Regions from separate parts of the Homo sapiens genome. Here region 2 is linked to region 1. The links are contacts of gene promoters, found by promoter capture Hi-C in human tissues and cell types (Jung and others, 2019). All regions are on one chromosome and are shown on one strand. The core of a region is centred on a gene start or on the middle of the fragment in contact, and the rest is flanking DNA. Distances in the headings are between cores, read along the strand shown. Region 1 holds the start of FUS (FUS RNA binding protein). Region 2 has its middle 31 kb from the start of KRABD5.

Region 1 (3,343 bases), core at 548-3,047:
AGTGCAGTGGCACGTCTTGGCTCACTGCAACTTCCGCCTCCTGGGTTCAAGCGATTCTCCCATCTCAGCTTCCTGAGTAGCTGGGATTACAGATGCGCGGACGACGCCTGGCTAATTTTTGTATTTTTAGTAGAGACGGGGTTTCACCATGTTGGCCAGGCTGGTCTCGAACTCCTGACCTCGTGATCCACACGCCTCGGCCTCCCAAAGTGCTGGTATTACAGGCGTGAGCCACCGCACCCGGTCAGCTTTATTATTAAATGTTAACTTCATCTGCTTTGTACACGAATGCATACCCAGTGCCCAGAACAGTGCCTGGAACATACTAGGTGCTAAATAAATATTTGTGACTTAATGCATGAATAAGGGTGGACTTCCTTTCTTTTGCTCTCACTGGAGAGTTGAACTCTCCTTCCAAAGGCGGTGGGGTGGATATTGGCATATTCAGGGCCTTTAGGGCTGAAGTCAAGGGCTTAGTGGGGCTTAATTTGTGGGCGGGCCCAGGGCATGGCCCTCATTGTTTCTCTAGAAAGACGTGTCCAACCCTCAAAGGACCTTCTGAAATCCCGCTGAAAGGTTAAGTTGGGAAGGAAAACCTGCATGCCTATGTATCAGGAATTAACGTCTTTTGTCTTGTTTTATTCAGTAGTTTCAAATTGCCTTCTCCAGGCAAGGCTGATGAAAGTGCAAGTTGCAAGTTAATTTGAATGTTTCTTTTTGCTTTTGCTCTCACAGGAAGTGAAAAGGCGACCAAACACTCTAGCATTCATGCCACCAAAAAGAGGAGTGTTTTGCAGTTACAAGACCTGGATTCGAATCACGACTCCTCTTAGCTGCCCTGTAATCAGGCACAATTACTTGGGTCTCTGAGTCTCACTTTCCTTATCTAGAAAACGGAGGTATCTTTACTTCCTTCGTAAGACTGATGACAAGGAAATTATCTGTGCATTTTGAAACCACTTAAGCCTTGTACACGTTTTATTTCTGGGATCGCCCTGGTAGGGCTTCAGAAAAATAAAAAGGAGGTCCCTGAGAAAAGGCTGGGTACCGTACATCTGAGGTCAACCCTCTCTGGTCCCAAGGATGGCCTGGGCTGTTCCGCCCCGTGGCTCCCCAGGGGCAAAGCCATGAGGATCCGGGTGAGAGCCCAGTGCTGGACGAGCCCGGGGCCCAGGGGTCCCGGCCGAAATCCCTGCTGTCTTTCAGGTCAAACGTCATAATCCCCGAACCCCAGAAAGGCCGAAAGGCAAGGCAACCCTGAAAGACGACGAAGTCAACCTCAGGGCGCAGGAGAGGGAGGGCCAGTGTGCTGCCGACGAGGGAGGCTGGAGCCGCGGGGACGAGGCGCCCCATACAGCGGCAAGAGGGTGGAGGGCAGGAGCTCGCCATCCTGGGTGAAAGCGGGGCCCAGCGAAGGGGCCCGGCCACAGGAATCTCGGTTCCACCCCGCTACTCCCGGCTGTGACTCCAGTTTCGTCCCCAGCCGCCGGGACCGCCCCCTCGCCCCGCCCCCAGCGGGCACTCAGGCCGTACCACTGTGCCTTCATGGGGGTGGAGATAGATCGTGGGCTAGTCCTGCCGAGGAGAGAGGGGTTCTTCCTCAAAAAATATGATTATGTATAGTATTCGCATGATTCTAGTTAACTTGTTTCCCTTCTGCCTGCTCGGACCCTCTACCTGCCCTACGAAGGGGGCGGAGTGCGTTCCTGCCTCCCCCTGCTCTTCCGCGTTTGGTGCGCGCCTGCGCGGTGCGTAGGCGGCGGAGCGTACTTAAGCTTCGACGCAGGAGGCGGGGCTGCTCAGTCCTCCAGGCGTCGGTACTCAGCGGTGTTGGAACTTCGTTGCTTGCTTGCCTGTGCGCGCGTGCGCGGACATGGCCTCAAACGGTAGGTAAGGGCGCGAGGCGACGGCGGCGGCGCACCCGGCCGAGGCCTCCCAGCTGGGCTTTTCGTTTTCAGTGGGACCGGGGCGGCGATCCCGTGTGGGATTTTTTGGCGCCCCTGTGGCGGGAAGCCGCGGAGAAGAGTAACTGGAGGAGGCTGGTGTCGCCATTTTGTTTCGCTCCTCTGGCCCTCGCGCGCGGGGCGGGAAGTCTTTTCTTTGCAGTCCGTTTGCTTGGGGTGGGCGTTGGGAGGGACGCTTCTTAGGGGTTTGAAGCGTCAGGTGAGGGTGGAAAACGCCCATTCTCCGTGGCCTCGCCTCCCCCAACTCCCGGCCCCGCGCTCGAGCCCGCTTTGTCGCAGTGCTGCATCCGGGCACTCGCGGCGCGCACGCGCTCTGCGGGCCCCTCCCCCTTCGCGGCGCGGGTACCCCTTCCCCGCCTCGTGTTGGTTCAGCTTTCTGTCGCGAGACCCTTCGCGGAAGACTCGGCGGCGCGCGTCCGGTGTGAGCCTTGTCCCTCAGTGGTCCTTCGCGAATGGGCGGGATCGCTCCGTTCCCGCCTGGGTTGCCACGCGGCTGGGGGCGGAGGCTCGGGATCGGGGCCGCCCTCTAGCTTAACGGTTTGGCGGCGGTGGTCAGGGTTCGACCAACGGACTTGGGGACGGCCCGAGAGTTTTTCCCGCCTAAATTTCTTTCTTTTTTTTTTTGGAGACACGGTCTTCCTCTGTCGCCCAGGCTGGAGTGCAGTGGTGCGATCTCAGATCACTGCAACGTCCACCTCCTGGGTTCAAGTGATTCTTCTGCCTCAGCCTCCTGAGTAGTTGGGATTATAGGCGCCCGCCACCACAGCCCGGCTAATTTTTGTGTTTCTTAGTAGGGGCGGGGTTTCACCATGTTGGTCAGGCTGGTCTCGAACTGCTGACCTCAGGTGATCCGCCCGCCTGGGCCTCCCGAAGTGTCGGGATTACAGACGTAAGCCAACCACGCCTGGTCTAAATTTCTTTTTTCTGAGATAGGGACGGAGAAGAACGGCCGCCCGAGGCCACACCCTCTCCTGGTCCTCTTTCCCTTTTCCTGCGGGGGAAGCGCCGCGTTTCCTGTGCTGGGAGGATGAGTTGATCTTGTTCGTGTATCTTAAGTGGGGCTTTTCAAAAGCGCTTTTGTTGCTTTTTGTTCGCTGGGGGAAGGCAGGGTAGGTGAGAAAACGGAACCATCTGGAGTCCCAGGGCTGGGGACTCGAGTACCTGTTGACTTTCGCCTCCTAAGGCGAGCAGTTGCATGATCTCTGTCATTTGGGGTCCAAGGGCTCTTTTGATTCTCTGGCTTTGCACTAAAAAGCCCACTTCATCTCCGGGATTGGTCAAAGAGTGAAGAATGGCCTTTTTTGAGACTTTCTTATTCTGTGGGTCTGGGCTGAGAGAGCAGAGGCCACAATCTGAACACTGTTCGAATTCAAACCTGT
Region 2 (3,343 bases), core at 465-2,964, 500 kb after region 1:
ACCAAAGAAAAGTATGAGACAAAATGGAAAATCTATTCCAGGCCATACACAGTGTTTTGTTGGTACCCTGGGATCCACATGCATTTCAAGAAGACTGAAGTGTGCCAAGCCTGCAGGACATTGAGGAACATCTGCCAGGCCTGCCTCTTAGTCCTTGAGTATGGCCTGTCCATTCAGGTTCATGATACAGAATTGTCTTTAAAAGATGACTTGGCAAAGTCAGACATCAATGAAGAGTACTATATGCAGAATATAACAGACAGAACACAGCTAGTTGGCCAGCTGGGAGAGTCACATACACCAGTGACGTGCTGTACAAACTGGCACAGACCACACCCTACTACCAAAGGAATAAGCACATTTGCTCCTTCTGGGTGAAAGGAGAGTGTGAGGGAGAAGAAGAGGGCCCACACAGACATGGGAAGCCTACAGATCCAGATGACCCCCTTGCTGATAAGAATATTAAAGACTGATATGGAATCAATGACTCTGGAGCAGATAAGCTTCTAAAGCAGGCTTCACCATGTCTTGTCCAGATCCACCAGAGGACAAGGTTATCACCAGACTCTGTGTTGGTGATCTGGGTGATGCCATTACTGAGACAGATCTAAATAATCATTTCTAGTTATTTGAAGATCTGAGTGATCACTGTTGTGCAGACCAGAAAGTAGTGTGCTTTCGTCCAGGTTTCCACAGGGCAGGCTACAGAAGTGGCTGCAGAGAAATCCTTTAATAAGTTGATTGTCAAGGGCTGCAGACTCCGTAGAAAATGGAGAGGATCCCAAGCAGTCAGAGGAAAAGAAAAAGGACAGAACCGCAGGCTGGGATCCAGCTAACGCCTATTCCAGCACTGCCAGGAACAGGAACTCTTCCTCTTCCTGCAGTAGCAACAGATGTATCTGCCAACCACAGCAACATACACCCACATGCTCCTCCAGCTGTGGTGAGCATTGCCTGGCCACCAGCCCCTGGTGTGTCCTGCTGCTCCCCCCAGGATTTCAGCCACCCATGTTCCATCCAATGGGACCATTGCCTTCCTTTTGAGAGGACTCTAGGATCAATCCATTGTGTTGGATCCTGTGTTGGACTCCAGGATCAATCCATCTCAGGACCCCCAGAGGATGGGAGCTCGTTCTGGAAACCACAGCAGCCCCTGTCACATTTTCACCACCCTCAGGCTCTATGGAAGGAACATCAACTTAAAATCCCAATTAATGAACATTGGAGTAAATATTTTTTTTCTTTATTTATGGTTCCCAGAGCATCTGAATGTGGTCAGATATGGGCAGGAAATGACAGCCATGCTTTTTCATATGGATTCAAAGGATCAATGGAAATCAAATAAGCTTTCATTAAAACATGTTTACTACTATAACATGACTAATAAAACATACTGCCTGTTCCTCTCACCTCTATGGGGGACGAGCAGCTGAGTGAGTTATAGAATGTCCAATGGAGTTAGCATCCAATCATATAATCATTTGTCTCTTTTTATGAGGGTGGAAATTGGCTTGAGAGGAAAAAAAAACCTTTTGAACATGTTTGTGTCCATTGGGTATTTTCCATTTTATTATCTTAAAAGAAAGGGATTGGTATTCCTAATTTTTGTAGTGGTGTGTGTGATTTAACTCTTTTGAAGCCACACCCTCAGAAAAACAGGTAGAGACCAGTCCCCATCACAGCCCAGATATTTTCCTTCCTCTCTTTTTGTCATTTATCACCAAAGAAATCTGTACCCACCAAAAAGAAGGCAAAAATAAAATGTTTTTGTATTTCTATGAGTCAGATGAAAACGTGAACTTCATGGAGCTTTGTATCATGGGATCAGAAATTATTTTCATTTACCCAAAAATTATGGAAACAATTTTCCTTAGGTTTGACGAGTTTCCCTAAGCTCAAAAGCTGAACACAAGCATTTCCTGACATATCCTCAAGAAGAGAAACAGCCTTAAACAGATTTGAAAAACACATTAGTATAGAACCCACACATCCCTCCAGAGTCTATCTCAAGAAGAGCTCCTCGGTCACACCCTAGTCCTCTGCCCCAGGCCCCAAGATGTCCAGGAAGCTCTCCTCATTACCTCAGGGGAAAAAGCTCCCTGGGCATTGGGGCCCTCTGGGGGTCAGTGGCCCAGCCCTGGCAGTGCATCAGGGCCTCCTGGGAGCTTCAGGCCTGCTGATGCCAGGGCCCTAAGCTGGATCATCCTATCAGAATCTCTGGGATGAGACCTCACAGGATGGTAAAACCCTCAGCAGAGAGTTCTAATCTGCACCTGGGTGTGACTCCCAGTTACTGAAGTCTTCGCGTCCCTGTGGCACATTAAGATGAGTAAGGACAGGCCGGGCGCGGTGGCTCATGCCTATAATCCCAGCACTTCGGGAGGCTGAGGCAGGTGGATCACAAGGTCAGGAGTTGGAGACCAGCCTGGCCAACATGGTGAAACCCCATCTCTGCTAAAAATACAAAACTTAGCGGGATGTGGTGGCATGTGCCTGTAGTCCCAGCGACTCAGGAGGCTGAGGCAGGAGAATCGCTTGAACCCAGAAGGCAGAGGTTGCAGTGAGCTGAGGTCGTGCCACTGCACTCCAGCCTGGGTGACAGAGCGAGACTCTGTCTCAAAAAAAACAAGATGAGGAAGCACTAAGGTCACCCCTCTCCTCAGAACAGTGCATGACAAAGATAACCCTCTTCTTCTAGGGATGCAGATCTCAACCCAGGCTGCGTGTGAGAACTGCCCAGGGAGATTTTCACAAACACGATGGTCTCCTCCAATAGAATGTGTTTCTTAGACCTGTTTCTCCACATTTCTTGGGATAAGTTTATCAAAACCATTTTACTTCGCCTTTGTAGATGCCAGTTTGATACATCTTTCTCTTGAACAACTTTTGTCATTAATATATACACATCCCCACCTTATTTTTCACTTTTCTAACTCAGAGAGATATAGAAAAAATAAATCAACCAAAGTGTTTTTCCTTTTTCCTCACTCGACAATCAATACAGAATACTTCTGTGTCTTCTGTCACCAAAATGTATGGAGATTTCTCTGAATCAATAGCCTGGGAGTTGTATAATTCAGTTCTTTTTTCTTTTCTTTTTTTTTTTTTTTTGAGATGGAGTCTCTCTCTGTTGCCCAGGCTGGAGTGCAATGGCACAGTCTCGGCTCACTGCAACCTCTGCCTCCCGGGTTCAAGTGATTCTCCTGTCTCAGTCTCCCGAATAGCTGGGATTACAGGTGCCCGCCACCACGCCTGGCTAATTTTTGTATTTTTAGTAGAGACGGGGTTTCGTGTTGGCCAGGCTGGCCTCGAATTCCTGACCTCAGGTGATCCGCCCACCTCG

The links. Contacts are between HindIII fragments. The study calls those that stand out against the background at their distance.
Region 2: a fragment that was not itself captured here is called in contact with the fragment with the promoter of FUS in region 1 in 1 of the 25 tissues and cell types used here (thymus).

Annotation. Positions count from the first base shown.
Region 1 is chr16:31,178,342-31,181,684 of GRCh38, forward strand. It overlaps FUS (FUS RNA binding protein), which reads left to right and starts at 1,798. Exons shown (of 15, transcript NM_004960.4): 1 at 1,798-1,886. The coding sequence starts at 1,874. RefSeq lists enhancers at 684-743, 1,035-1,795, 1,254-1,323, 1,796-2,557, 2,558-3,318 and 4 more and silencers at 1,484-1,553, 2,194-2,343, 2,464-2,513. The HindIII fragment of the contact is 19,228 bases long and covers 1-3,343 here.
Region 2 is chr16:31,680,948-31,684,290 of GRCh38, forward strand. It overlaps the pseudogene RBM22P12. Among named protein-coding and RNA genes, the nearest start is that of KRABD5, 31 kb to the right of the region's middle. The HindIII fragment of the contact is 6,049 bases long and covers 1-3,343 here.